Linked DNA regions of Homo sapiens: region 2 is linked to region 1. Evidence: promoter capture Hi-C in human tissues and cell types (Jung and others, 2019). All regions are on one chromosome and are shown on one strand. The core of a region is centred on a gene start or on the middle of the fragment in contact, and the rest is flanking DNA. Distances in the headings are between cores, read along the strand shown.

What was found. The method cuts DNA at HindIII sites, captures the fragments that hold promoters and counts their contacts. A contact is called where the count stands out against the background at its distance.
Region 2: a contact is called between a fragment that was not itself captured here and the fragment with the promoter of LOXL1 in region 1, in 1 of the 25 tissues and cell types used here (bladder).

The regions. Positions count from the first base shown.
Region 1 is chr15:73,922,725-73,927,711 of GRCh38, reverse strand. LOXL1 (lysyl oxidase like 1) reads right to left here and starts at 1,250. Exons shown (of 7, transcript NM_005576.4): 1 at 1-1,250. The coding sequence starts at 928. The region is part of intron 1 of LOXL1-AS1 (LOXL1 antisense RNA 1); the gene reads left to right. RefSeq lists a silencer at 1-2 and enhancers at 1-744, 3,783-4,768, 4,769-4,987. The HindIII fragment of the contact is 8,654 bases long and covers 1-3,795 here.
Region 2 is chr15:73,970,600-73,975,614 of GRCh38, reverse strand. No RefSeq gene overlaps it. Among named protein-coding and RNA genes, the nearest start is that of STOML1, 19 kb to the left of the region's middle. RefSeq lists an enhancer at 2,202-2,411. The HindIII fragment of the contact is 4,429 bases long and covers 245-4,673 here.

The DNA.
Region 1 (4,987 bases), core at 1-2,500:
ACCAGCCCAGGCGTGGGTCTCCGCCATGGGCCTGCGCCGCCTCGGGACCGGGGTCAGGGTAGGCCTGCTCGAAGCCGGGGGTGCCCTCGCTGTACAGACTGTGCGAGTAGCGGCGGTCCAGGCCGTCGGGGGGCGGCGGCGGCGGCGGCACGTAGGGCCTCTCGGGGGCCGGGTAGAAGCCCTGAGGCGGGTACTCGGGCAGCTCTTCGCCGCCGCCGTACTCCTCGTAGCGCGCCCGGGGCTGGTAGGGGTAGATGACCCCCGCCGAGGCCACGGCCGCCGCCCCCGCGCCCACGCCGCCGCCCGCGGGCCGGTAGTACACGAAACCCTGGTCGTAGGTCCGCGACGCGGGGTCGTAGTTCTCGTACTGGCTGACGAAGGGCGCCTGCGGGTAGGGGAACTGCTGCGGGTAGGAGGGCTGCTGGCGGTAGGTGCTGGCGAAGGCCGAAGCCGAGACCGAGGAGGCGGAGCCCCCGTGCCGTTGCTGGGAGACGGAGGTGCGGGCCCGGGCCATGCCCGTGCTGTCCCCGACGGCCACCTCGCGCCAGTTGTCGGGCACCTGGCCAAAGCCGAATGGGTGCCGCGCCTGGCCGCGCACGGTGTCCGAGCCCACGCGCCCCGGCAGGGGCAGGGACGGCGCCTGCCGACGCCGGGGGCTCCCGTGGCTGCGCCGCTGCTGGGCCTGGGGCGCGCCGGCCAGCAGCACCCGGGAGCTACTCTCGGAGCGCTGAGGTCCGGCCGGCACGTACTCTGAGCCCGAGTTGAGCAAGCTGTACACCTGCCCGTTGTTCTCCCACTGGATCAGCTGCCGCCAGCGGGCGGGGTCCGAGCCCTGCCCGGGCTGCGCCTGCTGCCCGTGCACCAGCACGCACAGGCAGGCGCCCCACACCAGGGCCCCCAGCTGCCGGCTGCCTCGGGCCAGAGCCATGGTGACCCCTCTGCAGAGGCCTGGTGGACAGAGAGGCTCTCAGGAGTGGCCCCCTGGGCGTGCTTCTCTTCCCACGGCCTCGAGGACAGGAAGGCTCCTTGCTTGCCCCAGCTCTAGCTTTGTCCATGCTGGCCTTGTCCCGAGCGGGACGGCTCCTCCGATGACAGCATTTCAAGGCCAAGGGGTCAGGGCAGGGCAGGGGCGGTGCCCAGGGCTGCACGAGGCTCTCCGCAGGGCACCGGGCGGGCAGGACCGCCTGTGGGCCTTACATGGCCAGCCCCGCACTGGCTGGCCGCTCGGCTGGCGCTTTCCCACTCTGAATGAATAAGCAACAGGCTGGGAGCGTCGGGAGGCTTCGGCCTCCTGGTCCGCCTGCTGGGGCCTCCTCCGCGGGGCCCTATGGCCCGCCGGCTTTTAGCTATGCGCCGGTCCCACAGCTGCAGTGCTCCCTCAGTCCCTGGAGTTCCCAGCCAAGCCACAGACCTGCCTCTGAGGAAGGGAATCGAGCAGGGAGTAGGAGGGGACCTCTGGGGACTCGGGCCTGGTAAGTGGGGCTCTGGCAGGCAGAACGGGGCTGGGGTGTCAGCACCACCCCGCCCATTCCTCTCTGCTTTGGTCACAGCATCCCTGGTCTCCACCTTGCTCACTGGCTTCTCGTTTGGGCTGGAATGGGCCTCTGACTCCTGTCTGCCCCAGCCTCCTTCCCGTACTCCCGGGTTCTCCCTTTTCCTTGTTCCCTAAAGCCAGTGCTAATTAAGACACACCCTCTTTGCATGTTCCTTCCACCATTATCCCACACCCTCAATAGGAAGAAAAAAAAAAAAAAGACACACCCTCTTTGTTGGTGGGCCTCCTCGGGGAGATGCTGAACAGGGACCACTCTCTAATTCCAGGTCCCAGGTGCACCGCAGCTCTTGGGCCTGCGAAGAGAGGCACTGGAGCTGCACCTTTTCCCTCGTGGCACACCTCAGGGGCTTACTTTCCCAGTCTGAAGAGTGGGGTGTATCCCTGAGCTGAAAAGCACTTGTGAGATCCTGGGAGAGATCAACTTCCCAGACATCACGTATGGTTTCTGTCCTACATCTCTTGGCTCTGCATAGCCTGGGAATAACTTGAGTGTACACATGGATAAAATGAAACTGGGGGCTGTCTTTGATATGGGACAGGGGTCACTGTGAGGCAGAGAAGCCAGTAAGCATTGAACAACAGAAGGGGGTTCCGGAGACCTGGCCTGGTCCTGTTGCTGTGTGGCTTAGTCCCTTACTCTATCTGATCCAGGTGCCACGGCTTACCAATGGAAGATTAGGCCAGATGGCTCCTGAGAGTGCTTTGGGAGATTCTCTGTTCCTTCTGGGAATGGCAGGGATAGGAGGGGGTCCCAGAAGTTTGAACGCTTTGGCATCCAAGAAATCACACTCCAAATACTGCTCTTCTGGCCTCCCCTGGGCTGCCTTCTCCAACCGTGTTCCTGGGAACCGAAGGGCAGAAATTGCCCTCTTGGGCTTATAAACAAGGTATGAAGGACCTGTCCTTAATTTGGCTCCTGTATATTCTTTATTTTGGAAATGCCTGGAGCCCACCTAGAGAGGAGGCAACTAGAGTGGACATTCTTTGGGAACTATAGACCTCCCAACCCCATCCTTGCCAGGCAGCATTTGTTCACCCATTGCACTGTTCTTCAGGACTGAGGCTTGGACTCCAGCATGTCTCTACCCTTTAAATGCCCAGAATCCAGCCCAGAGGTAGGGGGCTTCCAATACCTCCTGGCCAGCAACTTGTCAACGCTGACACCTCAGCTCCCCAGCATGGGGTTTCCATCTCAGACTCCAGACAAGATTCCTCCAAAGAGCCACTGGTGTGACTGACACCAAGCAAGATGCTGAGGCAGGGCTTACTGAGGGCCGGGACCTGGAGGGTTAAGCCTTCCCTCCCTCCTGCTTGCCCCCTGCAGTGTTGGCCTCAGCTGCTTGGAATCCCTGGGGTCCTGTAGGGCCCTCCCGCCAGCCAGATGGGCAGCTGCTGCAGCAGAGGAGGGGGAGAAATGGAAACAGGCCTCAGGGTACCCCTAGGCAGGGAGGGAAGGGAAGAGGAGTGGAGGGAGGACAGAGGATGGCTGTGAGGAAGGGAACTCAGTTGCCCTAACGTGAAGGCAGGACCCCTCGCCTTGACTCGGACAGCAGGGCAGGGGCTGCCTCAAGGCTTTGGATGTGGGGGGATCAGGGCACATGCCATTCCACTCAGCGGGCCTCAGAGCCAGCTCTTGGCGTGAAACCTTACCCGATGCTGGCTCCTGCTCCTCTCTCTTTTTTTCTTAATAAGGTCGAATCAGAGTGAGTCAGAGGAGCCAAGTTTCCTGTTAGGCTCTATTTGAATAAACTCTGCTCTGAACATAGCCTGGGCCTCTGCACAGACTCCCCTGGCCAGGACTGCGCTCCTGCCAGCCATCCCTGCTGAGATGGAGACCTGGGGGTCCACACCATGACTTGAGCTAGGGACCTGGCCTGGCCCAGCCACTCCCCGGGGAAGCTTTTTAAGCTCTCAGAGCTTCAGAGTCCCGTCTGTGACCTGGGGGTAATCATACCTTTCTTGTGGCATATTTGAGAGGATGGAATGAGAGGATTATGAAAAGTCCCCAGCACAGAGCCAGACATGTGGCCACTATTTTCCTTCTTTCCTCTTGACTTGTGAGAGAAGGGAGGGATTTATCTCTTGGGGTTGACCCCCACTCCCACTTCCTCTGTCTTTCCTGTTTTTATCTGTCTTCAGCATCTTTCCTTGCTCAGGGTGAACCTTGTGCAGGGGGGCCAGAGGTGGCCCCTCCACCAGAGCTGTCCTCTCCCTTCCTCTCTACTCCCTCCTTCTGACCTCATTCTACTTGGGTTTAGGTCTCCTGCAGTGGCTGACAGGCCCAGCAGTTCTGTGAGCCCAGGGGAGCCTGCCTTCCATCACCTCTCCTCATGCTGGGCAAGGCCTTGCCTTGGTGGCTGGAGGTGTCCTGGCATCCTTAGGTTGAAACCTGCAGGGTGGGGTCCTAAAAGAGACCTGGGCAGGTTATGGAGGGTGCAGAGCTGGGGTCAAATGAGGGCGTGGACTCGAAGGCTGAGCTGAGCCAGAGCTGTCTGGGGTGAAGGGCAGCTTCTCTCTCCGCCTGTCCCTGCAGGCTGGGATTCACACCCACATTTTTAAGACCCAGGCATGTGCTTGAAGCTTGTTGCCAGTTCCTGGCACTAGGAACCGGTGTCAAGGGACCCTCGGAGGGGTGGTGATAGAAGGATGAAAGAGCCTGTTGATTGCGCATGACTTTATTAAGCCCCTGCCACGTGCTCAGCTCTGTGTTGCCGGGGCTCCCACGGAGCAGCCAGGGTCCTGTGACCCTGTCATGGAAGGCTGAGTTCTGGAAAGTCCATGGGGGAACCAGGAAGCAGCAGGCCTGACCAGCAGCGGGTCTGGGGAGCAGAGAGGGGTCAGGAGCTGTGGGATTCCTCCCTTGCTTTGCAGAGGGACGTACTAGGAGGCCCATGGTGGGTCGGAATTTTCTGTGATAGTGGGGATGCCAAGAGGGAAGGCCCCAGAGCACCCAAACCCTCCATCTTCCAGGCTGCGCTGTAGATGGGTTTGGGGCAGCACTGGGAATCCAAGACCCAACCCAGGCAGCTGCTGCCTCTGGAAAGCGGGCTGGAGGAAGTGCTGAGTGAGGAGGCTGGGCGAGCTGGCACAGAAAGTGCTGACTCTGCAGGGAGAGGACCACCGAGTGACCACTGCCAGCTGGGCCCCGTGCCTACCCCTCCCCTGCAGCCACATCTGGCGCAACGGTGGGGTGGGGGACCCAGTCCCCAGGGCCGAGGTAGCCGAGGAGGGGGCCTGAGGAGGGGGCCAGAGCCATGGGTTTGGAAGTGTTTCTTCAGGGCTGGAACTCCACTCCGGAAGTGGGGGAGGTGAGGTCAGAGCCTTTTCGAGGGACTAATGGGGTTGGGGGTGGAAGGAACCCACCCTTCTCTAGGACCCAGGAGAATTCTGTGGCTCTGGCTACTTCCCAGTCGGTTTTCCTCCCAGCTCTCT
Region 2 (5,015 bases), core at 1,210-3,709, 47 kb before region 1:
ACCTTGGCCTCCCAAAGTGCCGGGATTACAAACGTGAGCCACTCCGCCCGGCCCATCTTTCACCTTTATGCTTACTCTGGAGCTGCTCCAGAGCTGTTTCAAGAACAAAGGATGAAAGGCCAAATATTTTAAGGAAAGATACTCTTATCACACTCTAGTCTCCTAGGAAATTACAATGATTATATGGGCTGTCAGCCAGGAACTATAGACAAAAACAAAGAATAGATATATCACACTTACTAACTTCTATAAAACAGAATGAGCGTCTTCATGGAGCGGAGCAGAGGACGCAGGTTTTACAGACAGAATAAGCTGAAGAAACCAGAAACAAAAAACAAAGAACGGATCGGTCATTTCAAAATTACTTTCTTAGTAAGGCAAGAACAGGGAAACAGAACAATTGAAAAATAACTGGTGGCCAGGTGTGCGGGCTCACACCTGTAAGCCCAGCACTTTGGGAATCCGAGGCGGGTGAATCACGAGGTCAGATTGAGACCATCTTGGTTAACACAGTGAAACCCCATCTCTACTAAAAATACAAAAAAAATTAGCCAGGCATGGTGGTTGGCGCCTGTAGTCCCAGCTACTTGGAAAACTGAGAAGGGAAGATTTGCGCCCAGTGTGTTTCGGGAATTAATGGGTTCTCGGTCTCACTAACTTCAAGAATGAAGCCACGGATGCTCGTGGTAAGTGTTATAGTTTTTAAACGCGGCCTATCCAGAGTCTGTTACTTTTGATGTTCAGATGTGTGCGGAATTTCTTCCCACTGGTCGGTCTGTGGTCTCACGGGCTCAGGACTGAAACCACAGACCTTCCCAGTGAGTGTTACAGCTCTGAAGGCGGTGCGTCTGGAGTTTTTTCTTCTTCCCGGTGGGTTCGTGGTCTCGCTAGCTTCAGGAGTGAAGCTACAGACTTTCGCGGTTGAGTGTTACGGCTCATAAAGGCAGCGCGGACCCAAACGGTGAACAACAACAAGATTTATCGCAAAGAGTGAAAGAACAAAGCTTCGCCAACGTAAACTGGGCCTCAGCGAGTTGTCACTGCCAGCTTGGGCAAGCCTGCTTTTATTCTCTTATCTGGCCCCACCCACATCCTGCTGATTGGTCCATTTTACAGAGAGCCGATTGGCCCATTTTACAGAGAGCTGATTGGTCCATTTTGACAGGGTGCTGATTGGTGCGTTTACAATCCCTGAGCTAGGCACGAAAGTTCTCCATGTCCCCACTAGATTAGTTAGATACAGAGTGTAGACACAAAAGTTCTCCAAGTCCCCAGCAGAGTAGGTAGATACAGAGTGTCAATTGGTGCATTCACAAACCCTGAGCTAGACACAGGGTGCTGATTGGTGTGTTTACAAACCTTGAGCTAGATACAGACTGCCGATTGGTGTATTTACAATCCCTTAGCTAGACATAAAGGTTCTCCAAGTCCCCAACAGACTCAGGAGCCCAGCTGGCTTCACCCAGTGGATCCCACACGGGGGCTGCAGGTGGAACTGCCTGCCAGTCCCGCGCCGTGTGCCTGCACTCCTCAGTTCTTGGGTGGTCGATGGGATTGGGCTCCATGGAGCAGGGGGCGGCGCTCATCGCGGAGGCTTGGGCCGCACAGGAGCCCACGGAGCTGGGGGGAGGCTCAGGCATGGCGGGCTGCAGGTCTTGAGCCCTGCCCCGCGGGAAGGCAGCTAAGGCCTGGCGAGAAATCGAGCACAGCAGCTGCTGGCCCAGGTGCTAAGACCCTCACTGCCCGGGGCTTGCGGGCCGGCCGGCCGGCCGCACCGAGTGCGGGGCCCGCGGAGCCCACGCCCACCCGGAACTCGCGCTGGCCAGCAAGTGCCGCGCGCAGCCCCGGTTCCCGCCCGCGGCTCTCCCTCCACACCTCCCCGCAAGCTAAGGGAGCCGGCTCCAGCCTTGGCCAGCCCAGAAAGGGGCTCCCACAGTGCAGCAGTGGGCTGAAGGGCTCCTCAAGCGCGGCCAGAGTGGGCACCAAGGCCGAGGAGGCGCCGAGAGCGAGGGCTGCAGGCGCGCTGTCACCTCTCACCAGGAGGAGGTCGAGGCTGCAGTGAGCCATAATTGCACCACTGCACTCCAGCCTGGGCGACAGAGCAAGAACCTGTCTTAGAAAGAAGCAGGGACTGAGCTGGGGAGGAAGGCTGGTGCCTGTGCCCTGGGAAGAAGGGCAAGGTGCTCTCAGAGTTGCTCTGGGGACAGGGACTCTGCCCCACGTTCAGAATTCATCCCCAACCTTGGTCTGCATGCTGGGTATGAGGAGAAAAGTGGCCCAAGAGAAGCCCTAAGTCTCCATGCTGGCTTCTGGGCCCCATGGGAGCCCGAACCACAAAGCTATGCAGGTCACTCCAGAGGGCCCGAGTCACCCCGAGGAGGAGAAGCAGCCCGGGGAGTGGCGTCCAGAGGTCTCCCTGGGAGCCTCGGCTCCTAGGTCAGAGCTCTCGTTTTTTTCTGACGGGAACGCAAAGAAAGCCAGTCCCGAGCTTGTGGTGCCATCTTGTGGCAACACGGGAGATAGCTGGTTTCCTCTTTCCAGAGGCTGCTTTCCAGGGCCGGGGAGGGGCGGGGCAGGGCAGTGAGCTGCTGTAGTAGAGTGACGGTGAAGAGCGGGGTCTAGGGAATATTCACCCTGCCTAGCCTTTCCCAAATGCATTCACACACACACTCACACTCACACACACACCCCTGTTGTACCTGGTCCAGGTGCGCTTGACAGGGTTGTGGGGGTAGAGAGGAAGGTGGGAGGCTTTGGCCAGGAGAAACTGGGGGAGACGGACTACTGCGTCGCCAGAAACTGCAGATTCTGGATTAAATCTACAAAATGAGGCATTCTGAAATCAAACGGCGTTTTAAGACCTTGCTAGGACCAGATGCTATTACCTTTGGAAGTTCCTTCCCACACCTTATTAAATATTAAAATACACAGATTTCTTACGTTAAATATAACATAGCACTGTCAGGTAACACGAGGTGATTTTTGTATGTTTGCCTTGGAAATTACTTGGCTAAGAGTAATTCATTTATGGTGTAATTACCTACGCGTTCTCAGCCCTCCCTGGGTATTCATTTGCATTCTTAAAGTACAGTCACACCCTAAATAACGACGTCTCAGGTCAGTGATGGGCTGCGTATCCGATGGCGGTCCCATAGGATTATAATGGAGCTGACAAATTCCTATCACCTAGTGACGTCATAGCCGATGTAACATTTTAGCTGACACAAAGCATTACTCATGCAAATCTATGACGGAAGAAAGAAACAAACTTGGCAAACCACCATGGACATACTTCTGAAAAGACGGACACTTCTTCAAGAAGTGCCTCAGGCAGGTCCTTTAGGAGAGATTGCAGAAGAAAGCATTGTCCGCTGGGCGTGGTGGCTCACGCCTGTAATCCCAGCACTTTGGGAGGCCGAGGCAGGTGGATCACCTGAGGTCAGGAGTTCGAGACCAGCTTGGCCAATACGGCGAAACCCCGTCGCTGGGCATGGTAGCGCGTGCCTGTACTCCCGGCTACTTGGGAGGCTGAGGCTTGAGGATCCCTTGAACCTTGGAGGTGGAGGCTGCAGTGAGCTGAGATCGTGCCACTGCACTCCAGCCTGGGCGACAGAGTAAGACTCTGTCTCAAAAAAAAAAAAAGAAAAAAAGCATTGTTGCAATAGCAGGTGACAGCTCCATGCGTGTTGTTGCCTATGAAGAACTTCCAGTGGGACAAGGTGTAGAGGTGCAAGACAGTGATATTGATGGTCCTGACCCTATGTAGGTTTAGGCTAATGTGTGTATTTGTGTCTTAGTTTTTAACAAAAAGGTTTTAAAAGTAAAAATAAAATAATTGAAAAATAAAAAGTTTATAGAATAAGGATACAAAAAAAGAAAATATTTTTGTATAGCTGCATAATGTGTTTGTGTTTTAAGCTAAGTGTTATTATAAAAAGTCAAAAAGTTTAAAAAAAATTTTAAAGTTCATAAAGTTGTAGAAAGCTAAGGCTAATTTATTACTGAAGAAAAACTTTTTTTTTGAGACAGAGTTTTGCTCTTGTTGCCTAGACTGGAGTGCAATGGCACAATCTCGGCTCACTACAACCTCCGCCTCTCAGGTTCAAGTGATTCTCTTGCCTCAGTCTCCCTGGTAGCTGGGATTACAGGTGCCCACCACCATGCCTGGCTAATTTTTTGTATTTTTAGTAGAGATGGGGTTTCACCATGTTGACCAGGCAGGTCTCGAGCCCCTGACCTCAGGTGATTCACCCACCTCGGCCTCCCAAAGTGCAGGGATTACAGGCGTGAGCCACCGCGCCCTGCCAAAGAATAATATTTTTAATAAACTTAGTGTAGTAGCCTAGGTGACAGTGTCTTTAAAGTCTACAGTAGTGTACAGTATTGTCCTAGGCCTCCACATTCATTCACCACTCACTCACGGACTCACCCAGAGCAACTTCCAGTCCTGCAAGCTCCATTCATGGTAAGTACCCTAAACAGGTGTACATTTTAAATATTTTATATGATATTTTTACTGTGCCTTTTCTATGTTTAGCTATGTTTAGATACACAAATACTTATTATTGTATTATAATTGCCTACAGTATTCGGTACAGTCACGTGCTGTACAGGTTTGTAGCCTAGGAGCAATAGTCTATCTCTTATAGCCTAAGTGTGTAGCAGGCTACACATCACAGAGTGTGTAAGGACACTCTCTGATGTTTGTACAACATTGAAATCACCTAATGACACATTTTTCTGATGGTATTCCTGTGGTTAACAGATACATGACTGTGCTCCAAGAGTTAACATCTAGTCTACAAATTCTTTTCAAAAGTAATGAAATTCTTATGAACACTGCATTTAATAATTAAAGAGGCCAATAGAGAATTAATGACATAAATTAACAATCGATGACACTTTGTAGACATTTGATTAAACATTTATTAATTTGGATGATTCTGTAGTTTTTACATTTTGGAGCCAAGACTTTTCTCAGGTTTTAAACATTTATTTAGGTCCCTGAGAAGCTC